Linked DNA regions of Homo sapiens: regions 1, 2 and 3 are each linked to region 4. The links are contacts of gene promoters, found by promoter capture Hi-C in blood cells and fetal thymus (Javierre and others, 2016). All regions are on one chromosome and are shown on one strand. The core of a region is centred on a gene start or on the middle of the fragment in contact, and the rest is flanking DNA. Distances in the headings are between cores, read along the strand shown. Region 1 overlaps STAMBP (STAM binding protein). Region 2 holds the start of DGUOK-AS1 (DGUOK antisense RNA 1). Region 3 overlaps STAMBP (STAM binding protein). Region 4 holds the start of SLC4A5 (solute carrier family 4 member 5).

The links. Contacts are between HindIII fragments. The CHiCAGO score rates a contact against its expected background, and 5 or more counts as called.
Region 1: a contact is called between a fragment that was not itself captured here and the fragment with the promoter of SLC4A5 in region 4, in 12 of 17 cell types (naive B cells, total CD4 T cells, total CD8 T cells and 9 more). The highest score is 12.8, in naive B cells.
Region 2: the fragment with the promoter of DGUOK-AS1 here is called in contact with the fragment with the promoter of SLC4A5 in region 4 in 1 of 17 cell types (activated CD4 T cells); the score reaches 5.4 in activated CD4 T cells.
Region 3: a fragment that was not itself captured here is called in contact with the fragment with the promoter of SLC4A5 in region 4 in 11 of 17 cell types (naive B cells, total B cells, naive CD4 T cells and 8 more); the score reaches 10.7 in naive B cells.

What each region holds. Positions count from the first base shown.
Region 1 is chr2:73,845,553-73,848,515 of GRCh38, forward strand. STAMBP (STAM binding protein) reads left to right here. Exons shown (of 10, transcript NM_213622.4): 5 at 1,835-2,201. The region is part of intron 1 of LOC112268419 (a long non-coding RNA gene); the gene reads right to left. Among named protein-coding and RNA genes, the nearest start is that of STAMBP, 18 kb to the left of the region's middle. The HindIII fragment of the contact is 1,702 bases long and covers 600-2,301 here.
Region 2 is chr2:73,980,153-73,983,374 of GRCh38, forward strand. DGUOK-AS1 (DGUOK antisense RNA 1) reads right to left here and starts at 1,287. Exons shown (of 2, transcript NR_104030.1): 1 at 983-1,287. RefSeq lists an enhancer at 3,134-3,222. The HindIII fragment of the contact is 8,489 bases long and covers 1-3,222 here.
Region 3 is chr2:73,861,417-73,864,587 of GRCh38, forward strand. It overlaps STAMBP (STAM binding protein), which reads left to right. Exons shown (of 10, transcript NM_213622.4): 10 at 787-3,171. The coding sequence ends at 843. Among named protein-coding and RNA genes, the nearest start is that of ACTG2, 30 kb to the right of the region's middle. The HindIII fragment of the contact is 1,563 bases long and covers 922-2,484 here.
Region 4 is chr2:74,341,883-74,345,167 of GRCh38, forward strand. It overlaps SLC4A5 (solute carrier family 4 member 5), which reads right to left and starts at 1,534. Exons shown (of 31, transcript NM_133478.3): 1 at 1,474-1,534; 2 at 576-652. The HindIII fragment of the contact is 2,074 bases long and covers 932-3,005 here.

The sequences.
Region 1 (2,963 bases), core at 201-2,700, 500 kb before region 4:
TTTTTAGATCAGAGAATTTGAGGGTTGGATTCACATTTGGTTATACCTGAAGCTATTTATAAGAATTGACTTTTCAAGCTATTTTTTTTTTTTTTTTTTGAGACAGTCTCACTCTGTCGCCTAGGCTGGAGTGCAGTGGCACGATCTCAGCTCACTGCAACCTCTGCCTCCCCGACTCAAGTGATTCTCCTACCTCAGCCTCCCGAGTGACTGGGACTACAGGCATCCGCCACCATACCCGGCTAATTTTTGTATTTTTAGTAGAGATGGGGTTTCACCATGTTGGCCAAGATGGTCTCAAACTCCTGACCTCAAGTGATCCGCCTGCCTCGGCCTTCCAAAGTGCTGGGATTACAGGCGTGAGCCGCTGCACCCAGCCATTTCAAGCTATTTTCAAATGATTCTTTTTAGGAAGTCAGTTAAAACATGTGGAGAAACTGCCAGGGCGCTGTCAGTGGCCAGCTGTGAATACATACTGCAGCCACTCACAGGCTGTTGTGTAGCTGTCTGCTGGTCTCTATTCTGGACTCTGATGTTGAAAATCAGCAGAGGGATGAACAGCTATGAGGTATATACTTCTAAAGCACCAAGTGAGTGTAAGCTTTAAGGAGGAGGTTATTACTTAGCATTTCTTTCTTTCTTTTTTTTTTTAATCCAAATGCCTCTCAAGTATTTCTTATTAGCTTAAAATGTCACTCTGTGTTGAACAAATGCACAAAAACCATAAAAATTTCAGAGGCCTCATTTTGGGTTAAAATTCAGTAGAAGGCAAGACGTGGTGGCTCATGCCTGTAATCCTAGCACTTTGGGAGCCTGAAGTGGGTGATCGCTTGAGCCCAGGAGTTCGAGACCAGCCTGGGCAACATGGTGAAACCCCATCTCTACAAAAAATACAAAAATTAGCTGGGTCTCTACAAAAAATACAAAAATTAGTGTGGTGGCACGCACCTCTGGTTTCAGCTACTCGGGAGGCTGAGATGGGAGGATCACCTGCGCCCAGGGAGATTGAGGCTGCAGTGAGCCATGATTGACCACTACAGTCCAGCCTAGGTGACAGAGTGAGACTCTCTAAGAAAAAAAAAAAAAATTCAGTAGAGACCCCCAAGATAGCAGGTATAAGTTTGGATCTGGTTCTATTTTATAGCCTTACTTGAAATATAGAATATGTACATGACACAGAGAGAAGAATAAAACTGTCTGTGATACAGGTTAGGAGAACACAGATAGTAAGTTGCATCAAGATTTCAGGCCAGACATTGTGGCTCACACCTGGAATCCCAGCGCTTCGGGAGGCCGAGGTGGGCAGATTGTTTGAGCCCAGGAGTTCAAGACTAGCCTGGGCAACATGGCGAAACCCTGTCTCTACAAAAAATACAAAAATTAGCCAGGTGTGGTGGTGCACACCTGTGGTCCCACCTACTCAGGAGGCTAAGGTGGGAGGATTGCTTGAGCCTGGGAGGTCAAGGCTGCAGTGAGCTGTGATCATGCCATTGCACTTCAGCCTGGGAAACAGAATGAGACCCTGTCTCAAAAAAAAAAAAAAAAAGATTTCAGTGAAGAGGAAAGTGCATTAGGTAGAGTCATTGTCGGGAGGGTATTGAGAGGATTGGGATTTTAATTGTCCTTGGAGATAGGTATACTGTGGCCAGATAGAAAGGGGTGGTGACTACACTCCGTGGGTATAAAGATACTGAGGAAAGCATGAATTCTGTGTTAGGTAATCAGGCCACAGCAGAAGTACATTTTGGAAATCTCCATGCTAAAAAGCCTTGTTCTCCTGAAGTGTGAAGTCACTGAGGTGTGAAGTGTTAGCCTAAATTTTCTCTCTTTGTAGAAGAAGGAAGCAGAGGAATTGGCCCGGAACATGGCCATCCAGCAAGAGCTGGAAAAGGAAAAACAGAGGGTAGCACAACAGAAGCAGCAGCAATTGGAACAGGAACAGTTCCATGCCTTCGAGGAGATGATCCGGAACCAGGAGCTAGAAAAAGAGCGACTGAAAATTGTACAGGAGTTTGGGAAGGTAGACCCTGGCCTAGGTGGCCCGCTAGTGCCTGACTTGGAGAAGCCCTCCTTAGATGTGTTCCCCACCTTAACAGTCTCATCCATACAGCCTTCAGACTGTCACACAACTGTAAGGCCAGCTAAGCCACCTGTGGTGGACAGGTCCTTGAAACCTGGAGCACTGAGCAACTCAGAAAGTAGTAAGTGCATTTGCTGATGTCCTCTTCCTTCTCAGTTGCAGCCAAACAGTATCATTCTGACGGGGTCAACCTAAGATTACCTCCCTGATCCCACTCATTAAGCTTTGGTCACAGAAACCCATCTGATAAGTATTGCTGTACTGTGTCCTAATACACTGGCTATGTTATAAAAGTGGCCTTTGCTGAAACCTAGTCTGGTCGATTTTCTGAAGAGCTAATATTATTCTTGAAAGTCAGACTGTCAACTTTTTAGTGAAAGGAAAAGAATGTGCCAAACCGAATTCATAATCCTCAGATAACATCATCAGACTGCTGTGTGACTCTGTGTCCCCTGCTCTGACTTTGTTACCTCTCTAGCAATTCAGATCTTGCTGTTGAATACGCAAAAGCAGAACATCTTTCCCCTCCCACTTTTTTTTTTTAAATATGAAAATATAGCTGTGAGAGACACTTCCTAACTTTAGCTTGCTGGCTGTCTCACAGAGTTTCTCCATGGTGTTCAGAAACTGGGTCCATTCTTGGCATTTTTTATGAGCTGCTTTGTTCATGCCTTTTTTGGGGGACTACACTGTATTTTTTATTTTGTTGTGGTTTGGCATTTAACTTCTTCCAGAAGAGTAAGTTCAGAAGTAAATAACTGCCCAGATTGTTTTCCATTCTCAAGAATATACACCAGTGTATTTCTTTTAAAGTCATACTCTGATATTCTTATCTGAGATAAAAGAGATTTAAAATTAAAAGTTCAGATGAATGGGCAGTGTC
Region 2 (3,222 bases), core at 37-2,536, 360 kb before region 4:
TCAAAATGCAGTCACAAAACTAGTTATAAAACATGAGGACATTTGCGGGGCTATTGAAAAACGTAGTAGCCGGGCGCGGTGGCTCACTCATGTAATCCCAGCAGTTTGGGAGGTCGAGGTGGGTGGATCATGAGGTCAGGAGTTCAAGACCAGTCTCTACTAAAACTACAAAAATTAGCTGGGCGCGGTGGCAGGTGCCTGTAATCCCAGCTACTCGAGAGTCTGAGGCAGGAGAATCATTTGAACCTGGGCAGCAGAGGTTACAGTGAGCCCAGATCGCGCCACTGCACTTCAGCCTGGGTGACAAGAGTGAGACTCCATCTCAAAGAAAAAAAAAAAACCAAAACCCAAAACCAAAACAAAACAAAAAACCCAAAAACGCATAGCATAGATATCCTACACGTGTCACACTCACCAATGCAGGTCCACAAGCAACCCACTAATGAACCTCCCTTTCCCTGAGAGCAAAATGCCAGCTTCTGCCTGGTATCAGCTCTAGCATTCGTGGGCTAATTTCAGAGGTCCTGGATTGTAGGTCCTGGATTCTGACATGTAGTAGTGAATGACCTTGGACAAATTACCTCACTGAGCGCCAGTTCTCTTATCTGTAAAATGGTGATGATAATAAAAACTATGTCATAGATAAGGAAAGTTAACATTTGCACATTTGTTGTATTTGCCACTCTGTGCAGACAGAAGGATAATGTGTGTGGAAGTGCTTTGAAAAGGGAAAGATCTATGCAAATATTAGTTGATAATATTTTTAGCCAATACATGACCAAAGAAGTAATACATCCAAAATCAAATAAACCTCCCAATACCTTCAGTCTTTAAAACCAAGCCCAGGTATGGATATCGGGATGTATTTACATTTCTGCAAAAGGTCCCCATACGCAAATCTCATTCTTAAATAAGGACAAATTACTCATTAGCTGAAGAGGAGAGAGGTCAAGTACCTGAGGAGGTTAGTCACATCAATCACCTGAGAGTTCAGCAGCATCCAACAGTGTTAGTTCCACGTGTTAACTTCCTGAAGAACCACAGGCTTGCACATCCAATTATGCTTCCTGTCCCTTTCCTCCCCCGTGCGGAATCAACTTCAGCTCATCAATGGGGTAGGAAAGCCTCCTTATTTCGCACCCTCCATGCTCCAGGCATCCAGGGAAATGCCCCTGCCACCCCTATCTCCCTTGAGTTCTTAGGGCTTCCTCCTCTAGCAAGGAGATTTCCCTTTCTAGTCCCGGGGGCAGCGGCACAGCCCGGCTCTGACCTCGCGGGAGCAGTCGCCTAAAAGAGGCTCCGCCCTTGGCCGCTTGGGGTGGCGCCCGCCAAACCCGCTCCTAAAAGGAGCCTCTCTCCCTCTGTCTGCTCTAAGCGCCTTGGGGGCCTAATCGCAGTCTCCACCTGGGTGCTGAACTTCCTTCTCCCCCGCTTGCTGTAGTCCAGTGCTGCTCTAACTTGACTTCACCTGACGGACTAATTAAAACAGATTGCTGGGCCCGCCCCCAGGGTTTCTGATTCAGTGGGGTTAGGATGGGGCCGAGAGCTTGCATTTCTAGCCAGTTCCCAGGAGATGGTGATGCTGCTGGTGCCGGGGCTCTCTTGGCGGAACCACTGCGTCTAGGCTAATGCAGCCCCAGGAAGGGCTCGCCCTATCCCTACGCCCACCCCCGCTGCTCTCCTGCCCTGAGCGCAATGTGAATGGGAATAGCCGCAGCAGCCCAGGAGGCTGGAGAACCAGAAGGCAGGACCTGAGGAGTTTAGGCTGTTTTATCTTGGGCGCCCCTGACCAGTTTGTGCAAGTCGTAAAGAAAGCAGGAAAGAAGCCTATGGGTCTTCAGTGTTACTGGGGTCTGTCATTCATTAGGGTCTACTCACCTCGTCTCTTCATTCAACACAGTGGTTGGTTGCTAGGTCTAGGGTTATGAGGTGAAAGACAGCGTGCTACCCTTCCAGGAGTTTGTAGTAACTGGGAAAGAAACATGCAAACCATTCCAGTGCCCAGCGCCGATGAGATAACTGTTCCTAGGCAGGGAGAGTCAAACTTCTGTGGAGGGAGAGTGGGTGGGGCTCTGGAATCATCTGAGCAGCTGGAGGTTTCATGGAACTGGCACTTATGACTTGCAGGATGAGTGGGAATTTGGCAGGTACAAGGGGTAGCTGAGAAGGGGTGGGGTGGGAAGGGTTTTTCCCCAGGCAGAAGGAATGAGCAACAGGACTGCCGAAGTGTAAGGTTCCAGAGGCCGGGAAGATATGACAGGCAGCTCTCTAGCCTGGCTGGGTTCCCTCCAACCTCTCTGGCGGCGCCTTCTCAGCTCCTGTCCCTCATGGGCTGGTATTCCCTGGGGCTCTGTCCTGGCAGCCTTTCCCTCTCACACTCCATATCCACCCTGGATGAGCTCCTCCACAACTGAGGCCTCGCTGTCTGCTCACTGATGGGGCCCAAATCTCAAACCCAGGCCTCACCCCCTCAGTTGCACACTCACTTTCACACGAATGTCTCCATCCCCAGGCATCCTTCCTTCTGCATTTTGTCACAGTGAATGGCACCAGCATTCACCCAGTTACCTAAACGAGAGGGCTTTATGAAATGACCCTCTCATAGATTGCTGGCAAAGAGTAAATGACACAGTAACTTGCTGGTGCCATTTACCCAGACAGAATACAAGAGGATGGCTGCTGGGCTCCTCTGAAAGTCCACAACTTACTAGCTGAGTGATCCTGGGCAAGTTATTTAATCTGTTTTCTTATCCATAAAATGGGTTTGATGATAGTACCTACCTCACAAGGTTGTCATATGGATTAAACAATATTAGTTGTTGTCATTCATTGAGCCCTATATTAAGTCTTTTACTTGGATTCCCTTGAAGATGGAGTACCTAGTCCAAGGTCACACTGTTACCAAGTGGCAGATTCAGGTTTGGAAGCCAGAGTTCTCTGGCTCCTGAGCCATCTTCTTCACCTCACTGTCACACTTTCTGAAAACTGTATACCAAACAGGGAAATGCCTATGGTACAATGTTAAGTTAAAAGAGGATGGCAAATTGTATAATCAGTGTGAGTAAATCCACAAATAGGAAAGGCTACAAGGAAATATAGCAAATGGTTAAATATGGTTGTAATTTGGTGATTTTTCCCCTCTAGTATCTGTAGTCTCCACGTCTTCTTTATACACATTTTTTATTAATAAAGTTGCTTATTAAAAATATATTACATTAAAAA
Region 3 (3,171 bases), core at 453-2,952, 480 kb before region 4:
AGACTCTTACCACAACTACCACTTAAATAGCAGTCTGGCTTCCAGACTGAGAACCACTAGCCTAGAATGAACATTTTAAATAAGGGTTTTTTTGTTTTTGTTTTTGTTTTTGTTTTTGTTTGAAACAGAGTCTCGCTCTGTTGCCGGGCTGGAGTGCAGTGGTATGATCTCAGCTCACTGCAGCCTCTGCCCCCCAGGTTCAAACAATTCTGCTGCCTCAGCCTCTCGAGTAGCTGGGACTACAGGTGCGCGCCGCCACACCGGGTTAAATTTTTTTTTTTTTTTTTTTTTTAGTAGGGTCAGGGTTTCACCATGTTGGCCAGGATGGTCTTGATCTCCTAACCTCATGATCTGCCCACCTTGGCCTCCCAAAGTGCTGGGATTACAAGCGTGAGCCACCGCACCCAGCCAAAAAGTGGTTTTTTAAAATGACTTTTCAGGCCGGGCACGGTGGCTCACGCCTATAATCCCAATACTTTGGGAGACTGAGGCAGGCAGATTACTTGAGGTCAGGAGTTCAAGTCCAGGCTGACCAACATGGCGAAACCCCACCTCTACTAAAAACACAAAATTAGCCAGGCATGGTGGCTCGTGCCTGTAATCCCAGCTACTGGGAAAGCTAAGGCAGAAGAATCGCTTGAACCCAGGAGGCGGGGGTTGCAGTGAGCCGAGATCGTGCCACTGCACTCCAGCCTGGGCAACAGAGCAAGACCCTATATGAAGAAAAAAAAAAAAAAGACTTTTCAGAATTTTCTAGGACTCCACCTTTCTTTTTTCCTATTGCAGAGCTGCAGCCACGTGACTGTTGTGGACAGAGCAGTGACCATCACAGACCTTCGATGAGCGTTTGAGTCCAACACCTTCCAAGAACAACAAAACCATATCAGTGTACTGTAGCCCCTTAATTTAAGCTTTCTAGAAAGCTTTGGAAGTTTTTGTAGATAGTAGAAAGGGGGGCATCACCTGAGAAAGAGCTGATTTTGTATTTCAGGTTTGAAAAGAAATAACTGAACATATTTTTTAGGCAAGTCAGAAAGAGAACATGGTCACCCAAAAGCAACTGTAACTCAGAAATTAAGTTACTCAGAAATTAAGTAGCTCAGAAATTAAGAAAGAATGGTATAATGAACCCCCATATACCCTTCCTTCTGGATTCACCAATTGTTAACATTTTTTTCCTCTCAGCTATCCTTCTAATTTCTCTCTAATTTCAATTTGTTTATATTTACCTCTGGGCTCAATAAGGGCATCTGTGCAGAAATTTGGAAGCCATTTAGAAAATCTTTTGGATTTTCCTGTGGTTTATGGCAATATGAATGGAGCTTATTACTGGGGTGAGGGACAGCTTACTCCATTTGACCAGATTGTTTGGCTAACACATCCCGAAGAATGATTTTGTCAGGAATTATTGTTATTTAATAAATATTTCAGGATATTTTTCCTCTACAATAAAGTAACAATTAACTTATGTTTTTGTGCTTCAGAGTGATCCATTTGATCAAGCATTGTATAAACAGGTTAAAAAAAAGGTATGGTTGTTTTGGAAAGGTGAAGGAAAAATGGAATTTGAGATATACTGACACTGATGGTGTGTCCCAGTTCACTTTTAATTACTCCTTGTTTTTTATCTGCCTGTTGCCATCTTCCAGAGGTGTTGTGAAGTCATCTCTGTTCTTTTGGTGCTGTCTCAAATGGGTCAACCATTCACTTCCTCCTTATGCCCTCCATGCTTTTGGCTGAGGATAATGAAGCCTTTGTTTGGAGTACCAGGTTACACTCCAATAAATGATTACATTTCCCAGCCACCCCACCCTACCAATTTCATTGTGTTGGCTGTTCTTTTCTGACTAAGGCAATACCTAGGAAAACGCTTGAAGCAGCAATTGTTACTGCAATTTTCTGTGAGCTGAGCCTGGTGTTCTAGGTGGCCTAGAAATAATGGTGTCATTTGTGACACCTCGAGTGAGGGCAGGAGAGTAAATACTTTGGCTAGGAGAAGAGTGATTTATTCTTTATCAGAATTCTAGGTGGGGGAGGGAGAATCTGTGAATGCATAAAGTTTTCTTCATTTTTAAATTTTGTCTCAGTCTTTATTGCTTAGGTTAGTGGTCCTTGAACTTGTCCCCTGAAAGAGCCCAGTTCTCTATATTCTTTTTCTTCTCTTGGGTTCTTAATTCCCCATATAGTGGAAATTCCTTCTTTGCTGTTTTGGTATGGGTGGGTCTGGGGGCCAGCTGGGCTTGGACAAGCCATTTCCTGCTGCAGCCCAGAGCAGCCTGGCTGTTCCACCTTGCTCTAAACAGTCCTGAAATTGCCCAGTCCTCTGCTTTTGGGAAATCCATCCCCTTCTTCCCATTCTTTGTCTACCACTTAGCTTAGGGCTTTCTTACCTTTTATTTCGACTGTAGCCGTTGGCTTTTACCAAGTCTCTTTGTTTTTAGCATTTCTTCATTCCAGTCTGTTCTGCACACTTTGATCAGGAGAAGCTTCTCACATTCCAGCCATGTTCATGTTTTCTCTCTTGCTCAAAAACCTGCAATAGCTTCCCATTGCTGAAAATCTAAATTTAGCTTTTAGTCAGAACTTTCCACTTAAAGTTCTTACCCCTGGCTATATATTCAAATATCTAGGGAGCAATTTAAAAAATACTGATGCCTGTGTTCTACCCCCCACCAATTAAAGCTGAATCTCTAGGGTGGAGCCTCAGATGTTGTTTCTGCATTTGTCTTTCAAGCTGCTAGAATTCTCAAGTACAACCAGGGTTGACAACCACTGCATTGGTCTTTGATACCTAAGAATTGTGAGCTCTCTTATCCGTCTCTGCCCACCAAAGACATTCAGCCAGGTCAACAACATATCATACGTTGCAACCACATTGATCACAGACTGATCACCAAACTGCTATATTTTCTTTTCTCTTCCTCTAGGCACAAGATATCTTAGTGGCTAGATGGGTGCAGGAAATCAGTCTGTAGATCCCTCTTCATATCTGCTGCAGCCTAGCCACTGCAGAGGCACTCTGCATAGGATGGTCTAAGTGTCTCTGTCTTCATCTTACCTCTGTGGAGGAGACGTGGAATCAAGCCAGCCCACAAGCCCTGAGACTGGATAGGCCGGAGAGAAAGAGGAGTAGCCAGAGCGGTCGGGAAAAGAGGAAAGGAATACTGTGGG
Region 4 (3,285 bases), core at 284-2,783:
ACCCAGCTTATGTCCTGTGATACCAGAAGGGAGCATTGCAATGACCTATTAAACCTCAAACCAAGCTGAATCCATTTCTGAGTAAGAGACTCTTACAGGGCTCCTGTCCTCAAAACTATATAAAATTGCTCAAATTATGTACTTCTGAGATAATAAATTAGCAGAAGAAGCACATAGCCCACCTCTTAAGATAGGGAAGTAGATCTGAAGTAGCTCAAGAAACAAAGTTTTCTACAGATGAAGGATGAGGGAAGGAAACCCAAGACCAGTTGATTCTGGTTTGGGAAATGATAACACTGGAGAACACACTCTACTATCTGTTTCTTGTGACATCCTTTGTGCTAAAGTTATCTCCTTTGTTGGCATGGCCACCATCCCTACTTCTAGTGCAGTGGAGATGTATGAGTGTCTCCATTGCTAAGTGTTTAGTTACTCAAGATAAACTTGACTGGAGAGGGTGTGGGCAGGCATTCAGTCAAGCAACAAGCCACTCACTGAGTGCCACCAATGGTGTGGGAAAAGATGACTCTCCTTAGACTGGTCCATCCAAAATAAAGGAGGTGGGGAGAGCATACCTGGGTGGTCTTCAGGGTACTCCTGGAAACATCCATCAGCTCATGAGCTCACAGCTGAATTCCAAATCCTGGGATGCCTGCTTGGAGGGAGGGTAAAACACCATTTCTCAGGGACAGAAGCCCACAAAGCTAAGGGCACTGGGTTTCTAAGTCAGGATTTCATCACGGCTGGATGACCCTTTTTTAAGGAAAGCCAGCTGATCTCCAGGACTCCTGATACATAAGAGCTATGCAGTCTGTCACTTCTAGGGAGAGAGATGGGGACTAGCTCTGGTTCCTCATGCGTTCCTTCCCTCTCACTCCCTAAAGACCTCAAGAAACAGATCCTTGGTAACAATGCCTTCTTTGGGCCAGAAAGCTTAGTTGAAGTGTGGATTCTTATACAAGTCTCATGTTTTCTGGACTCCTAGGAGACTCAGAGGAGACACCATAGGTAACCCTTATTGAACTGGAAGAAGTGTGAAGTACTATCAACCACTGAGACTCCCATGGCTCAAGAATATGCACAGAGGTCTAACTAGATATAGGTCTCAGCCCCTGACTTTAGAAGTCTGACATTCCACAGATATGCACACACTACACGCTCCCCTCACAGAGGAAACTGGAGTAGGGGGACACAGCAGAACAAAATCGCAACACTACTACAGGAAAACCTCGTCATTCCGTTACTTGTCCTTTGCTATGTTGGAATACTTATAGATTAGTTTCAACAATCAGGTTACTCCTTATCTTTGCTCTAAGTCTTGTACAGGCCTTTAGCAAAAAGCAATAAAATTCTCATCTGACTCTTGGTGGGCTGGGGAATCTGCCTATTCTATTCAGTTGGTTCACTCACATCTCCAAACCAGAACCTACAACCACTCTGTAACTTTATTTATGTAAAATCCACTCTACTTACCCCAGTGCAGTGGCCTGTGGCTCCTGGGCCCTGACTCCAATTCCTTTAGGGTGGACCTTGCAGTTGGAACCATCCACCTCTCGTTTTTTCTATCTCTGCTATTAACATAGCCCCTCCTCTATTGCCTCACCAACTATTTTCAAACCAAAAAGTCTTTGTCTATTCATAGCCACTGTAAAAGTAACATTCATTTTTCTGTTTTTTAATCTAATGTCTGCGTCTTCAGTGGTTCTCACTGGCTAATCTAATCAGTGTGTTCTAGGGAGGTTTATTCCTTGCCTGTTCAGCTTGTCCCAGCACAACAAAGGTAAGTCATTTGCCTGGGGAGAATCAGCTCTTTTAAATCAGACAATCCTCAGGAAAGATGTCAGGACTTTTGCCTCTTTTCTTCATGGGACTGAGATTCAGGAGAACATTCCACATTCCACTGCCACACAGCTCTGCAAACCCCAAATCCTGACTCTCCGAAGAAGGATATGGGCAAGGAAAACAAAGAAGGCATTTGAAAAAACCAAACCTTGCAAGAAAAACTTTGCGTACTTGGTGATTTTTCCAGGTTTATCCTGACTTTTGGCCTCTGTTTTTATGAATTCCATTTTTGTTTAAGTGAAAAAGATACGGTGAGAGAGACATAGTGGAAAATGGGAAGTTTGGAGGAAGATGGGAAGGAAGAAGCCAGTGAGTAGGAAGTGAGAATCGGGAGTGGAGGGAGTGAGGGACGCGGTGCTGAGCGATGGGGAAGAGAAGCATGCCAGGAAGGCGCAGCGTCTCTGGGCACCCAGCATGGGGCCTGGTATATGCACACATTTCCCCTCATTGAACTCTCAACAGTCCAGTGGGGAGAGCATTCTCGTCCCCAACCTTACAGAGCTGGAACAGAAGCTCAGAGACTTACAGACAGGAAGAAAAGTAGGAGCTGGAAGCCCCATTAAAAAAGCAACTCTACCCCTCTTCTTCCAGTCTCTTCTGTGGCTTCTCTAAGGGTCTTCAGCCTCCTTATTTCAGGGTTGACCTTCTCTTTCAGATAGGAAATTTATCATCTGGTTGGATATCCTCACTTTCTTCCTAGATCACGTGGAGTTTTCCCTTAGTGGAAAAGCCTCATTCCTGGATCTAGAGCCTGCTGGTGGCAGACATGTAAAAAACATGTTTCGGAGGCCATGCCCAAGCCAACACATTAACCCAACATTATAGTTTCTGTTAATAATCCATGGAATCAAAGACAGGCAAGACTAGGGAGATCAACACATGCTGGGTCACCAGAGGCTTTCCTGGTTTTAGCACAGAAGATCTGTGACCCAGGAAACCCCTTAGTCCCAGGAAGATCAGCACAGCCTAGGCCAGAAACAGTTTCGGGCCTTAGGGAATTTCCAGCTGGTTGGGGATTCAACAAATTCAGAAGAGTGTGAGGCTCCAAAAAGAAGCACAAAGGGAGGGAAGGGTTCAGTGAAAGAAAAATCACCCTTGTTTGGAGGATTACCTTGTTCCACAAATGTTCATGGCTTACCTACCAGCCCCATGTGTTAAAGAAAAGCTTTGTGGAGAAAATGGCCTTGGAGATGCAGTGAAGGGATAGGATAGGGGTAGGATTTAGAACAGTAGAACTACCAAGGGGTATCTGAGGCAGAGGGAAGAAGCCACAAAAAATATAGACATAAGAGGTGGGAGAACATAGCATAAATATCCTGAGAACTGGAGAGCAGTTTCCCTGGCACAGGGCAGGTTTGGGGAAATAAAGCTTTGGGCATGCGACGATAGGCTGGGTAGTCTATGGAGAGGTGTAAACATCAGCAAACATGTCTGAAGTGAAAG